Regions from separate parts of the Homo sapiens genome. Here region 2 is linked to region 1. Evidence: promoter capture Hi-C in human tissues and cell types (Jung and others, 2019). All regions are on one chromosome and are shown on one strand. The core of a region is centred on a gene start or on the middle of the fragment in contact, and the rest is flanking DNA. Distances in the headings are between cores, read along the strand shown.

Evidence for each region. Contacts are between HindIII fragments. The study calls those that stand out against the background at their distance.
Region 2: a fragment that was not itself captured here is called in contact with the fragment with the promoter of GUCY1A2 in region 1 in 1 of the 25 tissues and cell types used here (H1 embryonic stem cells).

The regions. Positions count from the first base shown.
Region 1 is chr11:107,015,995-107,022,352 of GRCh38, forward strand. It overlaps GUCY1A2 (guanylate cyclase 1 soluble subunit alpha 2), which reads right to left and starts at 2,482. Exons shown (of 8, transcript NM_000855.3): 1 at 1,759-2,482. The coding sequence starts at 2,061. RefSeq lists a silencer at 1,876-2,005. The HindIII fragment of the contact is 5,267 bases long and covers 1-4,350 here.
Region 2 is chr11:106,703,065-106,709,422 of GRCh38, forward strand. GUCY1A2 (guanylate cyclase 1 soluble subunit alpha 2) reads right to left here. Exons shown (of 8, transcript NM_000855.3): 7 at 5,448-5,602. Among named protein-coding and RNA genes, the nearest start is that of GUCY1A2, 310 kb to the right of the region's middle. The HindIII fragment of the contact is 7,782 bases long and covers 1-6,358 here.

The DNA.
Region 1 (6,358 bases), core at 1,232-3,731:
ATAAATAATGTAATAAGTGATTTATACATCTTCAATCAGGTCTCGTAAAAGAAAAAAATCATTCTCCATTAATACAAGTGCCACAAGAATATTTGTAGACCTGTCTGGTACCCGTACTCAGTCCCCTCAGGGTTCCACTCCTTCTTAGGTCCCCCCTACCATCATTTGCAGTAGTAATCTCAAAAGAGAGACTCAACAGTAATCAAACAAGATCAGTGTTCAGATTCATTTCGGAAACTTTAAAAAAGTAAAAGTCCTAGGGGTGGGCAGGTGAAAGTGCTGTCAGGAGGAGCTAAAGCTCTTGTATCCAAGGTCAGGGTGAGCATAAAAGATGGGTGGAGGTTTGACGCTGAATCTTTTTCAAATTCTGTCTGCAACAGAGTGGATTTCTTTAAAACAGAGCTCTCCCAGACACGGTAAGATTGGATCAGAGGTCTGGCATTCCTGCAAGAGGTAAAAGCCAAGGGTAGCTGAAATGCCTGGGCAGGAATAAGGCAGTACTCCTCTGGAAGGATGCCTACAACCAGGGGGAGTTTGTTGTACACCTGAAACTGCTGATACAGACATCCCAAGATGACCACAAGTTTGGAGAGGCATTTATTCATTCCACAAATATTTAGGAAGGGCCTAATATAAAGAAGCCACCAAAAAATGAGAGAGAAAGCACTAGAGAATCAATTGAAGAGAGAGTAAAGGATGAGGTGCAGGTGCAAGAAGTACAGAGCGGTTTAAATAGCTAATGTGAGAGAGAAAGCACTAGAGAATCCATTGAGGAGAGAGTAAAGGATGAGGTACAGGTGCAAGAAGTACAGAGAGGTTTAAATAGCTAATGTGAGAGAGAAAGCACTAGAGAATCCATTGAGGAGAGAGTAAAGGATGAGGTACAGGTGCAAGAAGTACAGAGCGGTTTAAATAGCTAATGCATGCGAAGCTTAATACCTAGGTGATGAGTTAGTAGGTGCAGCAAACCACCATGGCACACGTTTGGTACCTATGTAACAAATCTGCACATCCTGCACATGTAACCCGGGACTTTAAATTAAATTTAATTTAAAAAAAAAGAAATCCAGACACCAGGTTTACCCAGAGAAGAATAAATGCCTAGTGGATAAGAAAGAAAAAGAAAAAAAGCTACGGGGTGAGGACAACTCGAGATTAGAGATTACTTGAACAGAAGGCAACTCAGAAAAGTATCTGGCAAAAAGTATCTGAAGATGTGAGAAAAAGGATGCAACATAGAATGCAGATAGCCTGTGGAATTCAAAGATGTCAGAGAAGGTCACGCTAAGACCAAGAGAGTGTGGGAAATAAGGAGAGGAAGGGTTTCCTGGAAGGGGTTGGGGCTCCTTTGGGATGCTGGAGAACAGGATGAAAGACAGGGAAGCTGAACTGCAGAACACAGTGCCTGGGAAAGTTTAGGGGAAAGAAAACAGGTGGGTGTGAAGCAGCACTGGGGCTGTCCAGGGGGAACAGTGGTGAAGTAGGGTTCAAGGCTAGAGGTGGGCAGACAGGCCCCCGAATCAGGATACCCCAAAGGAGTGGAATCTTATTCCTTCCCAGTGCTGTAGTCCCCTCTTCCGCCCTAGCCTAGGGGATCCTCTGTCGCCGGAGCCACTGGAACCCTAGGCCGTGCAGGGTAAGGCCGGGCCGCCCCCCAGCGGTCGGGCTCTGCGCTCGCGCCCCGGCTCGCCCAGCGCCAACTTTACAGATCCGCGTTCTCTCCCCCGAAGGCGGTCCCCCCTTCCGCCCCCCGCTCACCGAGGGCGCCGTCAGGCGGCTGATGCTCTCGCCCAGCGAGTCCAGGTTGACCCGCCTCCGGCGCTGCACCCTCCTGGCCCCGGCAGTGGCAGCGGCGGCGGCGGCAGAAGCAGCCGGGGTCGGGGCCGGGGCGGCGGCAGCGGCAGCTGCGGCCGGGCTGGGCTCCAGCGGCCCGGGCGGGCTCCGGCTGCCATTCCAGCAGAGCCTAGACAGGGGGCACTCCCCCTCCTCCTCCGGGCTGGTCTCCAGGTAGTCGGAGCCCAGGGAGCTGAAGGACTCGGACGAAATCTTCCTTCGAGACATGCTGCCGGCGGAGCTGCAGCGGCCGAGGCGGTGGCGGCGAGGACGCGAGCGGCGGCGGAGGCGGCGGTGGCGGGACCGGCAAGCGACAACGTTAAGCGCGTCGGGGCCGCGGGGCGCTGCGGTCGCGCCCGGCGGGGCGGGAGTCCCCGGGGCCGCGGAGCCCCCCGAGCCGGCTGCTCATGGCGGGAACTTGGGGCGCCGCCGCACCTTGGGGCCCGGGCTCGGCGGCGGCGCCGGGCTGGGCTGGGGGCCGCCGCCGCCTCTGCTGCTGCTCGCGCGGCGCCGCCTCAGCGCCCGCCTCGGCGCATCGCCGTGCGCCGCGCTCCCGCTCACGGGGAGGCTCCGAGAGTGTGTGACCGCGGTCGGCGGGGCGGGGAGGGCTGCGGCCCAAGCAGAAGGGGAGGCAGAGGCAGAGGCTTCTGCCGCCTGCGCGCCTATCTCGCCCCCTTTCCCTCTCTGCTCCCGCCTCTCTCCACTTGCTGCCCTGCCTCCCTCCTTCTCCCTTTATCCCCCCGCCCCCCCCCATGCTCTCCCTCCGCGGGAATCACGTGTCGCCATCATACTCATTGGGAGTCTCTGCCTCGCCTGTCGCCACGTTTCAGGAGCAACGAGGACACTTCGTTGCTGTCCTCTGCGCGCCCTCCCTGCTCCGAGGAGGTGCGCACAGGAGCTCGGGTCGGACTGAGGGCCCCAACCCCAAACGCCTTATCCTCGGCCCTCGGGAGCAGATGGGTCCCGGCGGCGCTGGTGGGGAGAAGGGCTCGGGGCTGGGGGGCGAGAGGCCTCCCCCTGGAGCCACCTTGGGGAAACCTGACAGTGTGAAGTGGGGGTTAGGGTCCATGTTGTCCTTTCTCCGAGTTTATTTAGGAAGTTCCGAGGCAAAAGGGAAAGGCCAAGCGTCCAGCCAGCCCACTCCAGAGGAGACGCTTTCAGGGGAAGGGAAGGACAGGGGCAACATTTTGGCGCCCATCCTGCTGGAGCAGCTCCTGGGGACTTGTGTTCCCCGCCTCGTGCGAGGCCGTGTGGGCGCGGAGCGAGCCCAGAAAGGGGCGGCAGTGAGGACAGCGTCTGCTCTGACAAGACAGCACTGTTGCTGAGCCTCAGCCGGGCGGGGTGCGCGGGGCTCCCGGCTCCGCTGGCTCCTCACTAGTGCTGGACAGCTCCGCTTGCCACCTATAGCCGCCTTTGCAGGCGTTGAGAACTGGAGAACAGTTCCTCCTCAAACGACCTAGCACCTGGCCCGGGGGAAACCGGGGAATGATCCCACGTCCCTCATCCTCAGGGCTCTTTGCGCCAAATATGCGATCTGTTTGCACCTGACTGCAAATGCTGCTCAGAAAGCTAAGGGGAGTAGGGATAAATGCTTCTCGAACTGACTCGCCACAGCGCGAGCATGTCTTGCCGCGAGTTTTCAGCTGTGCGGCTTCATTCCAAAGCTTATCTCTTTGCAAACCAGTCCTTCCAGCGCCTGACCCCACTGCCCCTTGCCTTAGCCCCAGAAAACTCTCATACTGGTTCTGAGGATAGAGTAAGAGATGGGAAGAAGGGGCAAATGACAGTATCCCGAAAGGGGTTCCAGGCTGTACTTCCCCCTGCAATGAAGTGGATGAGCACCCTCCCCAGCTCACCCGATCTGCGGAGAGAAAAGTTTAGGGGCTCTGGCTTTAGTTTCCCAGTGAAACCGAAGCCAAAGCGTTTTTTTAATTAAAGAACTGGTCCTTCCAGGTGAAGGCAGATGGGTTTTTGTGGACTGTGTTTATTTAAAAAGCAAAACAAAACCAAACCACAAAACCTGTGCTGTACCCCCACCACAATTTGCTTTTAACTTCAAATCTTCCCAAGTGTTTGTTAGGGCTTAAATATAAATGCTATTTGAGGTTTCATTTGGAAAAATCCACTCAAACTGGTTCAGAGACATACCTTTTTCCCCAGATCTTAAATGGGCTTTAAAGATAGAAAAGTGTGTACTATCACTCAGACACTCCCCCTTCAAATTATATATATATATATATATATATATATATGTGTGTGTATATATATGTATATGTATATACATATACATATGAGAAAGAATATATATAATATATATTCTTATATATATGTATTCTTTCTCATCCTGAGGAAGTTTCTTTTAAAATAATAATTGTTACAATTATTATTTAAACTGTTGTGCATCTACTATTGATTTCCCCATTACTTCAATTAATTCTATGTGCATTTGTGTCCATTGAAAATTAGACTCAAATTACACTTTTAATCATAAAAAATCATCAGTTTTGCTAAAAAAGTTTCACTAGCCCCTTTTTCTAAATTATAATGAAAATTACATTATTCTAACTTTGGGGTAATTGTTTAATATTTCTGCTACACAGTATCAATCAGCATAAAGGATTGGAGTTCCTAGTTCTCTTCTTTGGTACTGATTATATAATAGTCAAGTTCTTTCGAATTATAGGATTTTAGTTAGTATTAAATATACTAAATAGCATGTGTCCTTCACATTCTTTCAATAAACTGCTGCGCACACAAATAAATATTATGGTAACGGCAAATAAACTTCATATTGAACTTAGAATTGGAACTTTTTATTAACCATTCCAACTCTTGTCTCAAAGTCAAAATTATTGAGTGCAAGGCAATGAGTATCATTTGTTTCTAAAATTTGTAAGAGGCCCAAGAGCCTTCCTGTTTACACTGGAAGTTTATTGCCAGAAAGAACTCTGAACCTATGGGACATTTTTTCTTTGTGTGAACCATTTGAATCAAAGACTCTTTACAGAATCTAGCCAGATGAAGTCGTCTTACAATTTTCTCTATGAATTACACCCTGCCTTTGATCATTATTTTCCCATGGATTTTTAAACTATAAACAAATCAAGGCCTAGATATAGCCAGTACAACATCTGCTTTGCTTTCAAGGGTTTCCTTTGTATTTCTGTTCAGGAGCGGGGTTCAAAAGCTCTCAATATGAAGAGTGCTGTGTTTATACTAGAATTGACATTTTTAAAATGAAGCATAGCTATTCTCCATTAAAAAAAAAGAAGAAGAAGAAGGCTTACAGTTAGCAAAAGCAATCTAAATACTTTAGGAAGAGTAGTCTGCTGAGAATGAATAGTCTGTGCTCTGATTTTAGGAAAAGAAGCTTGCCCAAGCTCATACCCACAAATCCAGCCCTGCTGGATATATTGTATTTCAATAAAGTATTTAAAGGCCACTCTCCAACTGGAAAAGAAAAATGCAGAAATATTCTTGGTTTATTTGTGAAGTTGGCGTAGGCACCTGACAACTCAGATTGATCAAGCATTGGGAAAGACTTCCTAAAAAAACAGATTCTTCACTTTAGTCAAGACGATGACTATTTTACATTGAAACATAAAGTAACTATTGTTTGTGCGTGCCTTCCCTTCACATAAATCAATCCTATTTATAAACCCTTTCACTTATATAGCCTCATTTAACCTGATTTTCATCCTTCTCAGAGAAGTTGTTGAAGAAAAGTCACGTGTGTCAAATTCAAATCAAAACCACAATCAGTCCTCCTTCCCAAAATTCTTTGCGTTTCCCAGGTTCAAACTCTTTACTAGTTTCTTTTCATCTAACACTCCAGCAAGAAAATCTGCAAGATTTGCATAAGCGTTCCCTGGAGCAGAGCTCTATCCTGATAGAAGACTGAAGAATTTCTCCCTGTCATTCTTTACATAAATCTGGCAATTCACAGGAATTGTACATGTAATATTAAAGCAAGTTTTCTAAAGAAATATAGTAGCTGGTGAATCCTTAACTAGGGCAAGTTTTTCTGGATCCCTAACCTGGAAAATCACACACACATACACACACACACACTTCACACTGTTCACCTGCTAGTTTAACCCTATGTTTGTGTTCGTGAATGAGATCTGTCTACTCTCTCACACTTAACATACCCCCTCTTTTACAAGAGGGCAAATGTGCTTTCTCTGAGAAATACTGGCAGCAAATAAGAGATACTGTACTTCATATTGTTGCACAATTTTGTAAGTAAAACTAAATATTAAGGAGGGCAAATGTGCTTTCTCTGAGAAAGACTGGCAGCAAATAAGAGATACTGTACTTCATATTGTTGCACAATTTTGTAAGTAAAACTAAATATTAAGGATAATATCAAAGTGAGAAGAACCATCTGCTGTGTTCACATATAAAGGGACACATAGAAGACAATGTAATCCATTGTCCTATAGTTATATTTTATCATAAAACCATCCCAAAGGGGTAGGATTCTTGCTGCTCAAAAAAGGATAGAGGAGGAGAAGGCTGGGGG
Region 2 (6,358 bases), core at 2,473-4,972, 310 kb before region 1:
AGAACATGGAAAGATTAGACTGGTTTAGTCTTCTGGCCTACGTATTTCTCTCATGCTGAATGCTTCCTGCCCTTGAACATTGGACTCCAAGTCCTTCAGCTTTGGGACTTGGACTGTCTCCTTGCTGCTCAGCTTGCAGACGCCCTATTGTGGGACTTTACCTTGTGATCCTGTGAGTCAATACTCCTTAATAAACTCCCCTTTATACATACATCTATCCTATTAGTTCTGTCCCTCTAGAGAACCTTGACTAATACACATGGCAATGATGAATTAAGGGTGCAGATGGAATTAAGATTGCTAATCAGATGACATTAAAATAGAGAAATTACCATGGATTATCCAGTGGGCCTGACATAATCACAAAAGAGTCCTTAAAAGTAGAAGAGGGAGGAAGAGTCAGTAAAAGATATGTGATGATAGAAGTAGAATTAGAAAGATGAACTATTATTGGCTTTGATGATGGAAGAAGAAGGTTCTGAACAGAGGAATGAGAGTGGCCTCAAAGCTGGAAAAGGCAAGAAAGCATGTTATCACCTAGAACTTTCAGCAAAGAATGAAGGCCTCATGACGCCCACGCTGATTTTAGCTAGGTGAGACCTGTGTCAGACTTGTGCCCTATAGAACTATAAAATAATGTTTGTGTTGTTGAAGCCAACAGTAAGTAATTAATCTAATTAGTAAGCAATCACATATATATGATTACTTACTAATTAGATTAATTATATACTATATATACGATTACATACATATATATGATTACTTATTAAGTAATGATTACTTAGTAATCATATGTATATAGATATACATATATGATTCCCACATTTAAGCAGAGGTACATAATTCAATTAATCATGTGATTAATTGAATTAATTATGTACCTTAGCTTAAATTTGGGAATTTCCCATGTACACAGCCAATTTTTAATCATATGACTATGATTTAGACAGTCATCAGTAAGGGACTTTTGTTAATAAAAACACATAGGAATAAACTGATTACTATCTCAGCTCTTAGTCACAGCTCAAAATGCACCTTTGACCAAATTACCAAACCCATTCTTTCTCTCAAATTTCCAGATGAGGTCTGTAATCCTACTAGCACACATCATTCATCATGGCTAAATTTATAAATTATGAGATTCAAGTGAAGGAATAAGATGGTTTCTTCCTCCATGGAAAGAACAGGATGAAGCAGTAAATGAATGTCTAATATGTTCCAAGTATAAGGAGCTTTAAAAATATCACATTAAATGCCAACAATAATCTTCATAAACATGTACCCATTTTAGAGATGAGATAACTTGGTCCAAAGAAATTAAGTCACTAAAGTTCATGTAGACAGGAAAATTTAGAGCCTGGATTCTACCTTAGGCATTTTGATTCTGAGCTCATGCACTTCACCACTGCCTAATCTGCTCGACTGTACATGCTCTCATACAATGAGCTGTTCAGGTAGCAGTGGTTAGGAAGAAGCTTGGTTTTAACAGAAAGAAGCCTTTCACAGTCAATTAAAAATAGGCGTTCTAAAACATCTGGAAGTAGATCAATTGTAAAATGAGAAAAGCAAAAATGTTTAAAGATTAAGAAAAATTTCATACCAAAGTAATTCAAGTCTTTCTACACTTTTAGTTTGCACTGTAGCAAGAAAAAATAATTATGCTGAGATAAATCATTTATTTCAAAATTTGCTAAAGCCATCCTTCATATAAGCAATTATTTCTGTTTTATAGATCAGCAGCATGATGTTAAGACAGTTGTTTATAATATATGCATTATTTTAAAATATATATTATATGCAGTAAAGTAATATTAGTATATATGATATATATATTATATGCACTATTTAAAGTGCATATATTAATGGTGCATATATTATGTGCACTATTTAAAATCCATATCCCATAAAAAACTTATCCCATCATTGGGATGATGGGAACAAAAATGTGTGTAAACACATTTATTGAAGAAAAATGAAAATGTCTAATTTGGAAAACTTAAAACTCAATAAAAATTTCTTTTTTGTAATGTCATGTAAATAATGTTCACAGGAACAAACTTTGTGATAATTAAAAAATAGAAAATATACCGAAGTGTTGATCAACAGAGGAATATATGTATGAAATATTAAAATATGGTGGAGTCATACACTGAAATGTCATACAGCGATTAAAATGATGAGCTAGAGCTGTCTATGATTTAGACAGTCATCAGTAAGGGACTTTTGTTAATAAAAACACATAGGAATAAACTGATTACTATCTCAGCTTTTAGTTACAGCTCAAAATGCACCTTCGACCAAATTACCAAACCCATTCTTTCTTTGGAATTTCCAAAGAAAGATGCTCCAACATGGATAGATCTTAAAAGTATTAAATTGTGTTTAAAAGAAACCAAAGTTAGTGATAACAGTCATACAGTAAAATACCATTTATGAAAATTAAAACATGTAAAATAAAATTATATTGTTCATGGATACATATGTAGAAAGTTAATATATAGAACATGGGACTGAGGCAGGGCGCAGTGGCTCAGGCTTATAATCCCAGCACTTTGGGAGGCCGAGGAGGGCAGATCACGAGGTCAGGAGATGGAGACCATCCTGGCTAAAAAGATGAAACCCCGTCTCTACTAAAAATACAAAAAATTAGCCAGGTGTGGTGGCACGCACCTGTAGTCCCAGCTACTTGGGAGGCTAAGGCAGGAGAATCCCTTGAACCCGGGAGGCGGAGGTTGCAGTGAGCGGAGATTGTGCCACTGCACTCCATCCTGGGCGACAGAGTAAGACTCGTCTCAAAAAAAAGAAGGAAAAACAAAACACGGGCCTTTGAAACACACCAAACTCATTAGGATGTCACAATGAAAGACTGAGAAAATTACAAAGAAAATGTTTTGTTCATTTTTATTAAGAAATATCTGAAGCAAAATATAAAGTGTTTAACTATGGTAGGATCATGGATATTTTATTATCTTTTCAGTACTCCACAATAGTTACAAAAATATTTTTAAAATTCAATTATTTGAATATTTAAGACAAAATGCATTTGGAATGAACAATTCAAAAAATGATTTCAGTTTATCATAATATCAAAACAGTCCACTTCCAAAGTTTATAATAATCATATAGTTTTCAAGATAAACAGGTAATGTTGGACATTCTACAGAATGTAATTCAGGGATAAAATAGAGATTTCAAACTCTCATGAGCTTAATACTGGGTTTTACTTCATAAATTATATTTGTTCTAAGAATCTACCCACCTGTCAGCTCAACGTGTCTATCTATGGCTCTGTTTGATTTTGGGGGGCCTGGGGGTGAAGGTGCAGAACAATAACACAACAGTAAGCTTCAGTGTATGCAGTAGTTGAAATGATTTCATTCCTCAGACCTTGTTAATCACTAAGGATCATCATAAACTGTGAAAAAGACTACAAAAACTCTGAGTCACCACCAAAATGCACAGACTTGTATGGCTGGCAGAGTTTTTTTTTTTTTTAATACATCACTATGTAAACAAAGCCAGCTACTGTTATGATGTCTAAGCAACAGGGCATGAACTCCTCACACAGGTTGGGCCCATTCTTTTACACATCTTTTTTTTTTTTTTTTAAGTGAAGTTGTCACAGAAGACATAAATCTACACTAAGTTACACAAACATGGAAAATAAGTATCAATACCATGATGGGAATAAATGGAACCATGTAATAGGATATGAGTGAGGTAGCTGATCTTCAGTAACTTTTTTCATCGTATAGAGCAGAAAGTATCAGAATCACTGATCTCTACTAGAGAATTTGACAAAATTCAATTTGCCATGGTAATTGTTGTCAGATCATCTGTAATATGCCCAGAATTGTGTTGGGAAAATTGGGAGAAGTTTAAAAGATGCAAATCCTCTTATAAATATCCTGAAAATAGCATATAGTTCTTAGATAAGTAATGATTAGATAGAATCCTGAAACTTTGTCCAGAAGTTGTCTGTGAGGCCCTCAAAATCTCTTGGGTTCCTTAAAATTAGTAAGAGGTGTGTCTTTATTCAAAAACTGTAAAATCAAGGTATCCACTACTTTAATGAGCTTAGCAAGAGCTTTAAAATGTATTTTTAATGTGCACTTTCTCTTAATTTTATATTTGTAATTTCAGTTTTCTTTCTCATCTATTTTGCAGAATCTGGAAGTATCTGCTTTCATCTAAAAACTTTAAATTCCCTCTCTGGAATTTCTGATACCAAATTACCCTCTAATTTGGTATCAAAAGTTTGAAAATATCACTATTTTATTTATTATTATAGTCAACTTTTATCTTTATATTCAAATTTTCTGCTTGAGTTTTTTGTAACCATGTTAATAGAAAAATCAATGGCCACTATTCCTACTATACATTTTTTTCAGTATGATTCTAAGTTACCTAAAACATGAAATTAATTAAGCAGCTGTACAGTAATGCCCAGAATAAAGCCAAAGTGTGATAAAGTAAGACATTTTCATGCTTTTCTTTGCTGTTAATTTTGAAAATGTCCATCTTATCAATGTATTTATTCATTAATTTGATAAATATTTACAGAGTGCTTATTATGGGCTAGACATTTTTATAAGTTTGGGGATATAATGATGAGCCAAACTCATCATTATGACTGTGAGAGACACAGTCGCTGCCCATATACAGGGCTTAATATCTAATAGGGGAAATTTCTACCAGACACAAAATAAGAATGAATTCAGGAGGCAAAAATGTGTAGTGTTGTCAAAGATTACCTTTAAGATAAAAAGAATTTAATGTTTTACTCTGTACCTGGTATAGCAGAGCATTCAAAATCCCAAAGTCCAAAATGCTCCAAAATCTGAAACTTTTTGAGAACCAACACGATACTGAAAGGAAATGCTCTTTGGAAGATATTGGATTTCAGATTTTCAAATTTGGGATGCTCACCAGGTAATATGCACAAATATTCCAAAACTCAAAAAATTTCAAACCGTAAAACACTTGTGGTCCCAAGCATTTTGAGTAAGGTATAATTTATATATATATAAATTTAAAGACTTTATTTATTTATTCAAAAAAACAGTCCAACCACCTTTTCTATTGTATTTCTTCCATTTTTATAAACAGAAACATTTTGAAAATATTGAGATTTCTATTATAATGCAGATCCTTAAGAACATTTGCTCTCCTGTATTTTAAACAGGTATACTTAAGAAGGACAGAGACTGTGGGAAATGACAAACCTATATTCACCTCTCAGTCATGTCAGATTTTTCATGCACTCTCACAGAGTGCAAATAAAAGTTTGTGTCACAATTACTATCTATCTTTTGGGTTTGGGCAGTTCTACTCATAATATCTTGGAGAATGACAGGATCAAGAAAAAGAACAGGGACTCACAGATGACAGCATAGCAGCCCAAAACAAAGGCCAAGACAGGAAGGAGGAGGCCAGAGAACACTTACTGGTAAGTGGTTGGGCTGACATTGATGCGCCGAGGGTGACTTCCCGACTCGAATTTGCTTGCCAGTGTGACATTATTTCCAAACAGGCAATAACGTGGCATTCGCACCCCAACAACTCCAGCCAGCACGGAGCCTGAGTGAATTCCTATCCTCATCTAAAGAAGAATGAAAGAGGAAAAGGAACATATTTGTTTCCATTTGGTATGCAATTATTTTAATGAAAGGCACTGCTAATTAATAATAATAATAATAAAAAAAAACTATGAGCTCCTCAAAGACAGGAACTGAGTCCTGGTCATTTTTGTGAGCCTAATAGCTGGATCATTATAGGGCTCAAAGAAGATAAATGCTATTGAATACACAAATAAATAGATTAAGTATATGAAAAAATTTATGTTTAATTTGCTACATAAATCTGGTTATGTTACAGGTTAAATCAGATTTCATCTGTATGTAATATGGTCTAACTTGAAAAGTATATTTTTCTCCACTTTCTCCCTCCAGTTATTCTTAAATAAAACCTTATTTGTTCCTTTCATAGCACTAAACATAATTATAAATTAAATATTTATATTTCTGTTTATTTTGTTTAAATGTTGGATTTTCCCATCAGAGAAGGATATAGTTATATATATTATATACATGTATATAATATATATAACTATATATTATATATAACTATATATAATATACATGTATATTATATATAGTTATTAATAATTGTATACTATATTGTATATAATATATATAAATATATTTATATATATAAATTTATATATATTTATATTTTTATATTTATATATATTTATATATATTATATAAATATATATAAATTTATATATTTTATATAATATATATAAATTATATATATTATATATTATATAAATTATATATTATACTATGTATATATT